Regions from separate parts of the Homo sapiens genome. Here regions 1, 2, 4 and 5 are each linked to region 3. Evidence: promoter capture Hi-C in 16 types of primary human blood cells and fetal thymus (Javierre and others, 2016). All regions are on one chromosome and are shown on one strand. The core of a region is centred on a gene start or on the middle of the fragment in contact, and the rest is flanking DNA. Distances in the headings are between cores, read along the strand shown. Region 1 holds the start of RPS6KL1 (ribosomal protein S6 kinase like 1). Region 2 holds the start of EIF2B2 (eukaryotic translation initiation factor 2B subunit beta). Region 3 holds the start of NPC2 (NPC intracellular cholesterol transporter 2). Region 4 holds the start of DLST (dihydrolipoamide S-succinyltransferase). Region 5 holds the start of PGF (placental growth factor).

Region 1 (2,700 bases), core at 11-2,510, 430 kb after region 3:
AACTCCTGACCTCAAGTGATCCGTCTGCCTCGGCCTCCCACAGTGCTGGGATTATAGACGTGAGCCACCGCGCAGGCCTGGGGCTCTGTTTTCCTTTCCAGTCAAATTCAGTTCAGCAAACATTTCTGGAGCATCTGGTACTGTGTTGAGCTCTGGAGAGAGCTGAGGATATCTGTGATCCACAGCCACCTTCACAGGGCCTCCGTAGAGCAAGCTTGGTATCCAGTACGCATTCAGCACATGGAGGCCACACACGCTGGGCTCAAATGCTGTTCCTCATGCTGTTCCCTCCACCCTGCCTGTTGTCTCCTCCCTGCTCCTCCTGTGGGAATCTCATTTACCCTTTGGGGTTTAGCACTTCTCCGTGGACCGGATGGATTGCCCCTGCTGTGTTTTGTTCCCTTGGTCCTGAGGTCAGTGTGGTCAGCGAGTGAGGACCCCTCCTGGAGCCAGCAGAGAGCAGAGCACAGAGCTGGGCTGTAAGAACTGTTGGCAGACGGAATGACTGAGTGGCAGACTCGGTGCCACGTTGGATGGGGGGTAGAAGAGGGCAGGGTGACCCAGCCCCAGGGAGGGTCGCTCTGTCCTCCTGGCTTTACTTTTGAGAAGGTCATGTGGCCTCCAAGGACCTGACAGCAGCTTCTTCCTGAGCAATGTGTGACCCAGGCGGCCAAAGGGATGACAGCCGTGGCTGCGGGAAGGGAAGGGGCTCAGAGAGAGGCCCACAAAGCTACCCCGCCTTTGCTCTCCCAGGTCCCACTGGGAATGGGCAGGACCCGGAACTTCCAACCCCAGGTCATTTGGAGAGAAAGAGGAGAGAGCAGGATGGGCGGTGGGGCGGGGAGGGAGACCCACAGCCTCAGCCGGCGGGGAGCTGAATCCCGGCCAGGATGCGGCCAGGAGGCAGAGGGAGGCCGCACCATCCCTGCTCGGCCAAGCCCAGGGGAACTTGAGGCTCTGAGGCCTTGCTCTGGGGGGTGCCCGGGTAGGACTGGCTTCAGGGTCCACCCCGCCGGGCAGGGTCCTGCCGGGCAGAGCCGCCGGCCCCGCCTGGACACAGAAAGCGGCGCGTGCAACCCACGGGGCCCCAGCCGCAAGGTGCACGGTCCCAGGGTGGAGGGACGGCCGAGGGGGCCCCTCGCCTGGGAGGGTGGAGAAGGGACCGGACAAAACACCGTACCTGCCCGAGCTGGGAGCCGGGTCCGCGGGCCAGGCCTCCCCCTCACGTACCGGCCCTTCACGCCAGAGCGCGCCGCGGGCCGCTGCTTTCCGGCATCCAGCGTGCGGGGCCAGCCGGTGCAGCGCGGCCATTGGCTGCGGATGAGCTCATACTTGAGCCTTAGAATAAACCACCAATCACCGCCCGGCTCGGCTCCTGCCGGCCTTAAAGCCGCAAGGTCTGCACGGCTGGGCTGTGAGGGGCGGGGGGCGGTTTAGAGAGGGGAGGGTGGGATGGGATGTGGGGTGGGTGGGGAGAGCAGGTCTAGAATCATCCAGGGATGCGGAAGGGGCTGCTTCAGAAATCTAGACGTGCCACTTCTAGGACTTTTCTCATTCATTGCTTCATTCATTTATTCAACGATTCAATGCTATGTATTGAGAGTCTCCCATGCATGAGGAGCTGGATGTTGAGATACAGCCGTGAACTAGACAGCGCTGTTTACATCCGCATGGGGCTTACAGTCTAGTGAGGGCTACCGAGAGTAAAGAACCCAGCAATAGAAGGCTTTTGATATCAGAACCGAGCTTAAAATTCAAGACATAGGCCGGGTGCGGTGGCTCATGCCTGTAATCTCTGCATTATGGAAGGCTGAGGCGGGAGGATCATTTGAACCTAGGAGTTCAAGACCAGCCTGGGCAACATAGGTAGACCCAATCTCTATAAAAATTACAAAATTTAGCTGGGCATGGTGGCGTGTGCCTGTGGTCCCAGTTACTCAGGAGGCTGAGGTGGGAGGATGGAGTGAGCTCGGGAGGTTGAGGCTGCAGCGAGCCGAGATCGTGTCACTGCACTCCAGCCTGGGTGATGGGGCAACAGATCACAGGCAACCCTGTGACACAGATCTCACCTGCAGGTTCAGTGCTGACTGGCTTCACACTGTCCCCCGGCTGCACTTGCTCTACCTTAGACACCCTTTCATACTTTCTCCCTCTGACTCCCACCCGTCCCCCTATCCTCACTCTCAGCCAGCACTGTTGCTTCATCCTTCCCTTGACAGCAGTGGCGCACAGACTCCCACAGGCTTGCTCTTGGCCCGCGGGCGGGGCTGTGCCCACACTCTGCTTCCAACCTTTTTCCACAGGTGACTGTCTGTGCCCCATCGAAGGCCACCCTTCCAGGTGGGCATCAGTCCCGTGCCATCACCTACTCAGCGACACCACTCCAGCGATTCTCCCGTCTCTCCCACTAGATAATTCCCACCTGATACAAACATAATGCTTGTTTCTCCCCTCTTAAAAGCAAAACAAGAAAACAAACCAAAATACACTCTAGGCCTCACTTCTTTACCTACCACCCTAGGTTTGCAGTACGGCTAATTTCCTTTTTTTTTTTTTTTTTTTTTTTTTTTTTAGTAGAGATGGGGTTTCACCATATTGCCCAGGCTGGTCTCAAACTCTGGAGCTCAGGTGATCCACCCACCTTAGCCTCCCAAAGTGTTGAGATTACAAACGTGAGCCATGACATCTGGCCCAAAAGTA
Region 2 (2,712 bases), core at 8-2,507, 510 kb after region 3:
AATTGACATGATCATGTGGTTTTACTTCTCAGATTGTTAATATGGCATATTACATTGATTTTTAAGTGTTTAATCAGCTTTGCATTCCAGGTTTATGTTTCACTTTGTAATTACATATTATTCTTTTTTTATGTATTGCAGGATTTGATGTGCTAATAATTTGTTGCAATTTTTGCTTCTATGTTCATGAGAGATATTAATCTGTAATTTTCTTTTCTTTGTACTACCTTTGGCTAACTTTGGTATTGACATAATCTTTTTGGAGGGCAATTTGTTAATTGTAACAAAAGTCTAAAATGTGCTCGCCTATGGATTCCACTTTGAAGAATTTATCTTAAGGAAATAGAGATTTCTATTACACACATACTTTGGGTTCAGGTAGACCTGGATTTAAGTATGAACCCAATCCTTTATTAACTGCTTAAATTCTGTGGGTCTGTTTCCCAATCTGTAAAATGGGGATAAGAGGACCTATTTCAGACCTTATTAACTGAGACAATTCACACACAGTGCCCAAGAACCAGTAAGCTTTAAGTAAATGGTAACTCTTGGTATTATGTTATACTCTCTGGCCTCTCTGTAGGAGGACAATTCTGTCCAAATCAGAGGATGTCATCTTTGCTTCTGTATTGGCTCCCACTTTGAATCTCCTTAATCTTCCTCATCTCTAATTTCGCCGTCTTCTGTTAGACGTGTTAGGCCTTGAGAATACAAAAGCAACAAAAGATATCGTCCTTGTTTTCAGAGACATGAACCTCCTAGACACAGGCGCAAACGGTACCAAGCAATGTAACAGAACAAAAGTGAGACGTCTGCCCAAGGGGCAGCCGACCCTGGACATGCATTCAGAGCGTCAGTGTCAGCTGACACTCGGGAGTGACAGCTCGGGCAGTCACCGAGCTGGGAAGACAGGAGGGAGTGCCGCAACTTCTTCAGTGTAGCCTTAAGTCGCGGTGAGGGGCGCGTAGAGACTTGCTGCTCCCATAGCAACGGGACCAGCCACCCTCTACAGGCCTGACGGGTTACTTCCGTTCACCGTCGGCTGAGCCAAGAAAGGCCGCTTCCGATCCTCCAGCCCCCGAGGCGCGGGGGCGCGCGGACGCCCGGTTATAACTGAACAACCCGAGCCCCACGTCTCTGATTGGCTCAGGCAGAGGAAGGGGGCGGGAGATCGGCAACGAAGGGCGTAGCCGGCTTCCACTCAAACTTGAGGTTTCCCCCCATCCCCTCACAGCGGAAGCCGACCTCGCCCGCCCCGGAAGTGCAAACTGTGTGGTCTGGCAGGTGTGGATTCCGCCGGTGAAGGCTGAAGGCAGCTACCTTAAAGATGCCGGGATCCGCAGCGAAGGGCTCGGAGTTGTCAGAGAGGATCGAGAGCTTCGTGGAGACCCTGAAGCGGGGTGGTGGGCCGCGCAGCTCCGAGGAAATGGCTCGGGAGACCCTAGGGTTGCTGCGCCAGATCATCACGGACCACCGCTGGAGCAACGCGGGTGAGGCCGGCCTGCCTCCGCCGGCGAACCTGGCCCCTGTCTGTTCCCGATCCCAGGGCTGAAAATTTCCCAGGCCTCACTTCGCGTTGGCTCCTCTTATCCTCTCTCTTTTGGACTGTAGGGGAGCTGATGGAGCTGATCCGCAGAGAGGGCAGGAGGATGACGGCCGCTCAGCCCTCCGAGACCACCGTGGGCAACATGGTGCGGAGAGTGCTCAAGATTATCCGGGAGGAGTATGGCAGGTCAGGCTCACGTCCTGGGCTCCTGGTTGGATCCAGTGACACTTTTTGCACGGGCCCCTCTACCTGCTCGGAGACTTTATTGGAGCTGAACAGCCCTTGTTACCTGCCTGACCACTCCTCCCCACCTCTCTCTTTGGGTCTTGTTGCCTCTATAGACTCCATGGACGCAGCGACGAGAGTGATCAGCAGGAGTCCCTGCACAAACTGTTGACATCCGGAGGCCTAAACGAGGATTTCAGCTTCCATTATGCCCAACTCCAGTCCAACATCATTGAGGCGATTAATGAGCTGCTAGTGGAGCTGGGTAAGAGGCCTGATCGCTGGGAAAATGGGACTGGTCACAGGCACATAAGGGAACAGAAGCCTCTGAAGGTTGTTCATTAGCAGAGATGGGAGATTAGCTGTCTTCTGGTTCTCAGAGGTTTGTCCTCCTTCCTGATTAGGAAATGTTGCAACAGGTGACAGGACCAAAGTAATCCTCTCTACTTTTCCTTACAGACCAACCCTTGATAGACTACAGATCTGTGGAGTGGAACAGACTCTATTAGGACAGAGTTTTATTTTCATTGTAAAGAAACAAAATGAACTCCCTAGAGAGCCAAGGTCGATAGACCTCCTTCACTATCTGAATTTTTATACACACGTACACGTATACCATTTCTATCCCCCTTGTCATTGCGGTCCAAGTGACTTGCAGATATTCATTGTAATCAGAGGATGAAGAAGCTGCTTCCAAATTGCTCCCCCATTTTTTCTTCTCTGGCCAGTCTCTCTCATGTAGAAGTGTTGTGGCCACCTTTTGGAGGAAGACTTCTTTTAGGCCGAAGCTCTCTTTACCCTATTCTCAGCACTTTAGGATTTCCCAGATTGCCATTCCTTGGCTGAATCTACTGTCTTCAAAATCAGTTGTAAGGAGCTCTGTAGTGACAGAGGTGGTTCATAGGTAGGGGTACTTCTGGAAGAGGGCAGGCAGAAAATCC
Region 3 (2,781 bases), core at 112-2,611:
TGGCTGTAAGAGTCTGAACCTCCCCAAATTGCTCCTGGTAATGATATCACTATTGTAAAACCTAAGGTCAGTGCTTGAGATATTTTGCAGATCCTGCATTCCGATGCAGCAAATGACACCACCCAGAGGTCAGCAAGAAGAACTCACTTCGACTCTCCTATGATTTTATCTTCAACCTGACCAATCAGCACTCCCCACTTTCCAAGCCCATACCCGCCAAATTATCCTTAAAAACTCTGATCCCCGAATGCTCGGGGAGACTGATCTGAGTAACAATAAAACTCCGGCCTCCCCCACAGCCGGCTCTGCGTGAATTACTCTTTTCGCCACTGCAAATCCCATCTTGATAAATCCGCTCTGTCTAGGCAATGCGCAAGGTGAACCCCTTGGGCGGTTACACTTACTCTGGCTCCCCATTCTGCTGCGTGACTTTAGGTAGGCTACCCAACATCCCTGGAATTCAATGATTGATTATACGATCTCCGTGCTTCCTTTCCACTCATAGATCTTACAAAGTCAGTTTCATGCCTCTTTCATTGACAGTTCTATCTCTCTATCTCCACCTCTGAACAACATTGCTCGAGTTTCTGTTCCGACAATTCTATAGACTCGACTCAATGAAGGCACTCAGAATTTCTACCACCTGTTGTATTTTCCAACAAAGATTCCAACCACAGCGGCGAGAGGGAGTTATGTATCACAAGCTGTGATTAGAGACACAATGAGATTTATACAAGGAAAAACTGATTAAGAATCACAAGATTCCAAAGCCCAAAGGAAGTCCTATTTGTAACAATAAATGATGAAAAAGGGGAATTGACTTTTGACTTGTCAGCAAAAACGAAATTAAAAGAAAAGCAAAAGGAGTTGGAAGGGGGAGGCGGGATTCCAAGATACAAAGCATAAATAAAAAGAAGTTCTGTGCTCCACCCCTCCACCAGAGCTGGATACAGCCCTTCTGTTGTCCGCCCTACAAACTTTAGGAAACTTCAGCAAAAGGCCCACCTCCTGGAGTTCCCAGGAACCCCAAAACACGCGTTCTAAGGAAAGAAACAAAGTTGTGCGCGGTCGGGTTTCATGGAGGCCGGCGCCTTCTCCCCCGACCCAGCCCATTCCAGTTAGGTAGGGTCCAAGGCTCAGCCTGGCCGCCCGAGGGATCCGCCCAGCCCAGCCCCAGGGGTCTCAGCGCGGGGGTCCGGCGGGGCCTTCCACAGAGGGCGCGGGAACCTTGGGCGGGCCTGGGGCTCACCGCAGTCCTTGAACTGCACCGGTTCGGCCTGGGCAGCGGTGCTGAGCGCCAGGAGCAGGAATGTAGCTGCCAGGAAACGCATCGCGGATAACGAAGTTCCAAGCTCGGGAAAGAAGCAGCGGCCGCCCGCGGTCACAAGACAAACCTGTCGGGGCGGGCCCGGGGAGGAGCCCAGTCAGGCGACCTGTCACCAGTAACCACAGCTGAGGCCCGCCCGCGCCCCGCCCCCGGCTCCGGAAAGCCAGCTCCAGCCCTCTCAGGCCCAGAAGCCTGCAGTCTCCGCCCATGCCATCCCCTCAGAGGCCTGACCCGCCCGGACCCACCTCCGCCCCGCCCCGCCTCACTCCTCCCCGCCCCGTTCCTTCCCTTTAGAGCACCTCTCCGGCTTCCTGGGTGCGTCCCCGCCGCTGCCGTCTGGAGCATTCCTAGCCAATCAGACACCTTCTCCTCCCGCACTACCCAATAGGCATGTTGGGGGGGCGGGGCCTCCGTGAAGTCCCGGCCTCCTGTTCGTTCTCTCCGCCTCCCGAGGCCCCGGGTGAGAAACGGGGGAGACGCGAGGGGCGGAGCTTGTGGAGGAAGATGGCTGCCGCCTGGGGGTCGTCCCTAACGGCCGCGACGCAGAGAGCGGTCACTCCCTGGCCGAGGGGCAGGTACCAAGACTAGAAAGGCACCTGGAAAGGGTGTTTGGTTCTGCGCCTCTAGGACAAATGGGAAACTAAGGCCTGTGGGGGATGCGAGGGTTTGGTGGGAGGCCGTCCAGGTGGGGGTCGCCAGGTTTAGCGTGAGGCGCTCCAGGTCGAGGGTTGCAAGGTGCCCCTTCTGCTCCCGGGCTCACCCTCCTCCCTTGCGCGCAGGCTCCTCACGGCCTCCCTGGGACCCCAGGCGCGTCGGGAGGCGTCGTCCTCCAGCCCCGAGGCCGGCGAAGGGCAGATCCGCCTCACAGACAGTTGCGTCCAGGTAGGAGGCCGGACGCGGAGCGGCGGTACCCAGGCGATTGGCGGGAGCAGCGGGAACTGCTCTTCACTCAGCCCTTTAACTCCCGTTTCCCGCTATTCTTGATCCCCCTTCCTGCATTTCAGAGGCTTTTGGAAATCACCGAAGGGTCAGAATTCCTCAGGCTGCAAGTGGAGGGAGGTGGATGCTCCGGATTCCAATACAAATTTTCACTGGATACAGTTATCAACCCCGACGACAGGCAAGGAGGAAGGGGTGGGCCCCCAAAGGAGGTACAGGAGGGACAAAAGTGTCTCCAGTTTAAGGTGCACTTTTATTCCAAATTTAAAGGGTTTACCTGGGATGGTTAACACCGCCCGTCTCACAGTGAGGATGCAGTAAAGGTTTGTTGTTCTGAATCAAAGTAACTAAGTTATAGGAGCAAAATTGATCTGCCCAGGTCCATTGGGTAGTCGGTAGAAAGTCAGGCCGGACTAGATTCCAGGCTTAAGTCCCTACACGTTTCCCAGTATTTATTCCATTGAATCATTTTGCCTCAAAGAAAATCAGCACCTGTTAAAGGTAATGGGGAAGCT
Region 4 (2,700 bases), core at 200-2,699, 390 kb after region 3:
GCGTGAGCTACCACACCAGGCTCAGAAGGATCTTTGACACAGATATAAAGGATGATGGGCTAGAGAAAGCGAGAGCGGAGGCTTAGAACTGCTTAGGGAGCTTTTCAAATAATTCAGGTGAAAGCTACTGAGGAGTTAATTGTGGGTAGCAGCAGGGCAGAGCTGTTTTCTCTATTTCTAGTTAGGACTTTGGCCCATCCTTCCAGAATTTCAGTGGCAGTGCTTTCAGGGTTCAGGTGAGTGAAGGCACTGTAAAGGTCCTGATGGAATTTGAGGCCAGCCTGGGCAACATAGTGAGACCCCGTCTCAATTTATATTAAAACATAAATTAATTAGAAAAATAAAAAATAAAGGTCCTGAGGGCCAGGCAAAATGCCTCAGATAAAGAAATCATCATGAACGGCACCAAGTGGTTCATTCATTCATTCATACATTTATGTGTTACTAATTCAGCCAGAGGTTTAAAGCACATCTTTTTCATTAGGAAGGTGAGCCTTAAAGGTGAATACTCAAGGGGCCTGAATACTTAAGGAGGGGAAGGGGATGCTATATGCTTTCACTTCAAGTCAGCGGGAAGAATGGCACACTCAAAGTGGGGAGGTCAGCCTGGCATGGTGGCACCTGTAGTCCCAGCTACTCCAGAGGCTGAGGCAGAGGGATCGCTTGAGCCCAGAGTGTCGAGGCTCCAGTGAACTATGACCTTGTTTCTTAAAAAAACAGCTGGGAGTTTATATTCTAGGGATAGGGTGACAAACGAACAACTTCCAAAATGCACAAGATGTATGGGGAACAATTAGTTTGGCTGGAATTTGCGTTGGGGGGAGATCAGAAGCTGTTGAGAAATAAGGCTATAGTTGGTGAAGATATCCGACTCGTAAAAAGGCAATGGGATTTAGAAATTCCTGGGATTCTGTTTCTTTGACTCGGGGTTAGGAAGACAGGGAAGTAACAAGTGCCTTTTTTTTTTTTTTTAATAGTTAAGGGACCTGAGACTGGGGGTGGGGGGCAATGTCATCTGCCCCAGGCCACACAAGTGTAAGATCAGGCATGCATGTCTGCCAAGGTTTCAGTTCAATGTCCGTGCCCCTCTTTTGCTCTCTTCCCAAGGTACAGAGGCGGAACGGCGCGGTGCCCTCGGGTCCCAAGAGAGAAGGGCGCCAAGCTCAGAGCCAGTTCTGTGGAAGGGTAGGGGAAGGCCTGACCCCGGGGGCAATGTGGTGGCGGGACAGTCGTATACACCTTCAGGAGAACCACCTCAGGCTGACAGGCAGTGCGGAGGGCCCCAAGAGCGCCTTAGGGTTGCCTGCTCCAGAGAGCGGGACTCCTGCGCTGCAGCCGGGATACTGGGCGCCGCCGTGCGCCCACCCCCTGCCAGTGGTTCGCTCCGAACACCCCTCGTCGGGCGGCGGGTACTGCGGCCCGCCCCACTTCCGGTTGTTGTCCGGCCCTATATCCGGTGTCCGCCCGCCCTCGGCTCCTCCGCCGTGATGCTGTCCCGATCCCGCTGTGTGTCTCGGGCGTTCAGCCGCTCGCTCTCCGCCTTCCAGAAGGTACGGTCTGGCCGAGCCGGGGCCCCGACGGGTGAGGAGTCTGTTGGCGGGCAGAGAGGCGGCCTGGAAGGCAGGGGCGCGGCGCGCCGGCCGGGCCGGGCACCAAGGGCACTGGGACGCGGAGGCCGCGCGGGCTGGGCGGCCCGGGGCCGTGGTTGCCCTCGGGACCGTTTTGCGGAGCCCAGCGGCCCCCTGCCTTCTCCAGGCAGCCTGCGGGGAACGTTTCCTGCTGTACCCCACCCTCCGCGCGGGAGCTGGGGAGCCGCGCCCGTCCAGATACTTGACTCAGAGTTAGGGAGGAGGCGCGGCGGAGTCCTCCGGCGGGATTCGGCGCCCGTCTCGTCTTGCTCTGTTAAAATCAGTGGGTATTAATGAGTCCCGTTGGGAAGTTGAGATAGTTTGGCAGGCCCAGCGTGTTGATTGGGTCTGCCAGCACGGTGTGTTGCATTTACCTTCGGAGTTACGAGATTCACCTGTCACCACCACTGGGACAGCTTTGAGCGTGTACTTAAAAGAAAAAGCTGGGTTTTTTTTTCATCTTGGGTGACGTCGATAATGTCTTCTTTCTCAACAGGGGAACTGCCCTCTAGGGAGACGTTCCCTGCCTGGTAAGTTCTGCCCTTACCGTCACCTAAAATGCTCTCCTCCTGGGCAGAGCAGTATGTGAGGAACTCGGGGGTGCCTGTGTTTCTCATAATATTTAAAGACAGTTTGGTTCAGAGAGTAGTGAGACGCAATGCTACATAATCACGAGCTATCGCTTATTCATTTAGCTCGTAGTTGAGTTTCTACTGTGTTAGGCACTGTGCTAGACGCTAGGGATACAGGAGTGGATACAGAAGTGTACAGTTCTTGCCCTCGTGGAGCTCCTAGGCTAGTTGGATAGTGTCAGTTGCTAAACAAGCCAACAAAGGCAAATTTTTGTAACTGCTGAGAAGGAAACGAGGGTGGACAGAAGAGCCCTTTTTGAGGAGGTGACTTAAAAGTTATGGCCATGGCCGGGCGCGGTGGCTGACGCCTGTAATCCCAGCACTCTGGGAGGCTGAGGCGGGCGGATCACGAGGTCAGGAGATCGAGACCATCCTGGTTAACACGGTGAAACCCCATCTCTACTAAAAAATACAAAAAATTAGCCGGGCGTGGTGGCAGG
Region 5 (2,700 bases), core at 93-2,592, 460 kb after region 3:
CCCCCAGGCCAACCCTGCTGGGCCCTGCACAGCCCGCCTTGGCTGGGTGCCAGAGCCCAGGGGGAGGTGATCAGCTGGTGGGAGCTGAGGGGCTGGAGCGGGTGGCGCCATGAGCTGGTGCAGCCGGTAACGTTACACCTCTGGCCAGCCCTGCAGCAGGCAGGCGGGTGGCTGGGCTGCTCGGACTCCTCAGGGACTGCCCAGCCCACTCCTACTCTTGGGCTGGGGCTGGGGACTCCCAGGGCAGTGGGACAACGCAGTGGGAAGGCAGTTCATTGGCTTTGTCAGGATTTCACTGCCCAAGCTGGCTCCCAGCCAGACTCACCCGGCTCCTGGGAAAAGGGCCCTGCTCACTTCCCCAGGCCCTGCACTCAGGACCTCCGGCCACCCACCCAGGAGAAAAGGCACAGCGAGACCCCTTGTCTCGTCCCCAGCCCACCCAGGAGCCCACGGCTCAGTCCTGAGCCCTGGTGGGGGCAGGGCCAGCCTCCCCACCAACAGCTTCTTCAGCTGGCTCCTCCGCCACCCCCACCAGGCCAGGTCAGAGGTCCTGGGGACGCCTGGTTGGCCATGGGGCCTCGACCCTGACCACAAGGCCAGGGACCCGCCTGGGATTAGTGGACAGATGCTTTTAGCAAAGCCACCAGGGCTCCAGGGGCCAGACAGGAAACCTCCCTCCCTCCCTCCCTCCCTGTGGCTTCCCTGCCCCCACCAAGACAGCCCCCAGGACCTGGGGGACAGCCAGCCTGAGGTCTCTTCCCAAACGAAAGAAGTCCAGCCTGGCCTTTAGGAAGTGTGTGGACATCCTTGGAGTTGCTGCTCCCTGGAGTGGGTCTGTGATTTCAGAGTCCCATGCTTCCAGTGCTGGGATGGGGAGGTCTGGGGAGCCAGGCTAGGTGGGGGTAGCTCTTACCTGGGGGGGCACAGCAGGCAGCGCCAGCCCGGCCAGGAGCTGCAGGAAGCAAGGGAACAGCCTCATGACCGGCATCTTCTCAGACGTCCCGAGCCAGGGGGCTCCGAGGGAAAACCACCATGCTCATCCCCCGGGGAGCCCCTGGCACAGGAGGAGAAGAGCTGAGTGGGGGGCTGGACGCCTCCCTCACTGCTGCCCCGAGGCCCCGGCCGGTGGTTCGAGCATCTTCTGGAAGCCTTGCGGAGTCAGGAGCCCGTAGGTAAGGCTGTGGCTGGGGAACCCGACGGGGAGCGGCCCGGCGGGGCGGGGCGCCGAGGGGCAGGCGGGTCCCGGGGATGGTCCGTCGGGCGCCCAGTGCCACTCCAGGTCCTCCCGTAGCTGGGCGGCCGTCCGTCGATGCAGTTTCCTCCGCAGACAGCAGCTCCCTTCTGAGACTGCAGCCGGTCCGCGCCTGGGTTTCAGGGACTGAGCCGGGGCGGGGCTCCGGGCCGGCCCCGCCCACCGCAGACGAGGTTCCCGAGCCGAGTTCCCGGAGCGCCCGGTCAGCCCGCAGCGCCCGGCCAGCCCGCAGCGCCGGAGCCCGCAGTGCGTGCGAGGGGCTCTCGGCAGGTCCAGACGCCTCGCCGAGCCCAGCCCGCAGCTCCCCGGGCCGCGCCGCGCCCGCCCACAGGGCCCACAGCCCTGCTTCGGCTCTCAGGGCGGTCACCTGGGATGGGGGCATCCAGGAGTCCAGCGTCAGCCGTCAAGGCTCATGATCTAACCGCCTCTGCAGGAAGGGCCGTCCGGGATGCCTGGGAAGGCAGCCATGCCCACACCCCTAGGGGGCCAAGGGATTCCTAGCCAGGTTATATAGATGAAGAAACCGAGGCTCCGAGAGCACCCCTGCCTGCATATGTCGAATGGACATAGGCATTCTTGGAAAGTGTGTGTGTGTTGTGTGTGTGCGCGCATCTGTGTGTCCGAGGAACTGGCAGAGACAAAACCCAAGCCTACGTGACTCCAGAACTCTAACCCGACCTACCACCCTCCTAGCCAGGCACGGACACAGTGGGCCTCCCACAGGAAACCTCTCAGGGCACCTGGCTGGAGGATCAGGCCTGTTGCCTCCTTGGGAAGCAGTCTTCCCAGGCCCTCCCTGCGGGGCAGCCCCCTGTGGTAGAGAGTGGTCTCACTCAGGCATCTCCTCCTGGTCCCTGGCCGAGGAGGAACTGTACGCTGCGCGGGGGTCTGTGTGCATCTGCGCGTGTGCATGGGCATTTGCGGGTCTGTGAATATCCATGAGCGGTGCATCTGAGCCTCTGTGTGGTCTGAGTACGTGTGACTACTGTACCTCCAAATACGCCTCTGTGTGGGGGTCAGGTCTCTCTGTATCTCTGTATGCTTGTGTGATCTGTTCGTGTCCGCTGTGTATCTGGGTGTGTTTGGAAGTGTCTGAATGTGTATCTTTCGGTGGGACTGTGAGTCTGCACGCCTGCCTGTCTCTGCGTGTGTGTGTCTGTCTCTGTGGGTGAAGACTGTGCCTCTCTCTCTGCGTTTGTGTGTGCCCTCCCTTGGTTCTGGATCTTTCTTTACCACCACTCCTCTCACTGCCTTCTGTGTCCAGCTCCCAGGCTGCAGGAACCTGGCAGGACTGGGAGTCACGAGTTGGCTGGGCCTGGGGCTGGTGGGTGGCTGTGGGGGAGGAGCGAGGCCTGGGAAGTGGCCCCTACAGCTCACATTCCAGCCAAGAGCAGGGAGGCCAGGGCAGCCCCAGCTCTCACCCCAGTGACCTCTGCGTCCACTGCCTG

What was found. Contacts are between HindIII fragments. The CHiCAGO score rates a contact against its expected background, and 5 or more counts as called.
Region 1: a contact is called between the fragment with the promoter of RPS6KL1 here and the fragment with the promoter of NPC2 in region 3, in 2 of 17 cell types (fetal thymus and monocytes). The highest score is 5.8, in fetal thymus.
Region 2: the fragment with the promoter of EIF2B2 here is called in contact with the fragment with the promoter of NPC2 in region 3 in 3 of 17 cell types (fetal thymus, total CD8 T cells and naive CD4 T cells); the score reaches 7.5 in fetal thymus.
Region 4: the fragment with the promoter of DLST here is called in contact with the fragment with the promoter of NPC2 in region 3 in 1 of 17 cell types (M2 macrophages); the score reaches 5.3 in M2 macrophages.
Region 5: the fragment with the promoter of PGF here is called in contact with the fragment with the promoter of NPC2 in region 3 in 1 of 17 cell types (monocytes); the score reaches 5.2 in monocytes.

The regions. Positions count from the first base shown.
Region 1 is chr14:74,922,000-74,924,699 of GRCh38, forward strand. RPS6KL1 (ribosomal protein S6 kinase like 1) reads right to left here and starts at 1,261. Exons shown (of 12, transcript NM_031464.5): 1 at 1,181-1,261; 2 at 1-486. RefSeq lists enhancers at 14-785, 786-1,556 and silencers at 927-1,336, 1,427-1,486. The HindIII fragment of the contact is 5,428 bases long and covers 213-2,700 here.
Region 2 is chr14:75,001,664-75,004,375 of GRCh38, forward strand. It overlaps EIF2B2 (eukaryotic translation initiation factor 2B subunit beta), which reads left to right and starts at 1,258. Exons shown (of 8, transcript NM_014239.4): 1 at 1,258-1,490; 2 at 1,612-1,732; 3 at 1,888-2,036. The coding sequence starts at 1,328. RefSeq lists enhancers at 805-894, 936-1,616. The HindIII fragment of the contact is 8,033 bases long and covers 527-2,712 here.
Region 3 is chr14:74,491,944-74,494,724 of GRCh38, forward strand. NPC2 (NPC intracellular cholesterol transporter 2) reads right to left here and starts at 1,362. Exons shown (of 5, transcript NM_006432.5): 1 at 1,250-1,362. The coding sequence starts at 1,331. It overlaps ISCA2 (iron-sulfur cluster assembly 2), which reads left to right and starts at 1,822. Exons shown (of 4, transcript NM_194279.4): 1 at 1,822-1,902; 2 at 2,107-2,209; 3 at 2,332-2,447. The coding sequence starts at 1,832. RefSeq lists silencers at 1,115-1,174, 1,345-1,624 and an enhancer at 1,825-1,904. The HindIII fragment of the contact is 4,485 bases long and covers 1-2,781 here.
Region 4 is chr14:74,880,467-74,883,166 of GRCh38, forward strand. DLST (dihydrolipoamide S-succinyltransferase) reads left to right here and starts at 1,450. Exons shown (of 15, transcript NM_001933.5): 1 at 1,450-1,550; 2 at 2,125-2,158. The coding sequence starts at 1,488. RefSeq lists silencers at 1,382-1,608, 1,465-1,794. The HindIII fragment of the contact is 10,796 bases long and covers 1-2,700 here.
Region 5 is chr14:74,954,255-74,956,954 of GRCh38, forward strand. It overlaps PGF (placental growth factor), which reads right to left and starts at 1,343. Exons shown (of 7, transcript NM_002632.6): 1 at 914-1,343. The coding sequence starts at 988. RefSeq lists silencers at 1,140-1,209, 1,390-1,489. The HindIII fragment of the contact is 6,970 bases long and covers 1-2,700 here.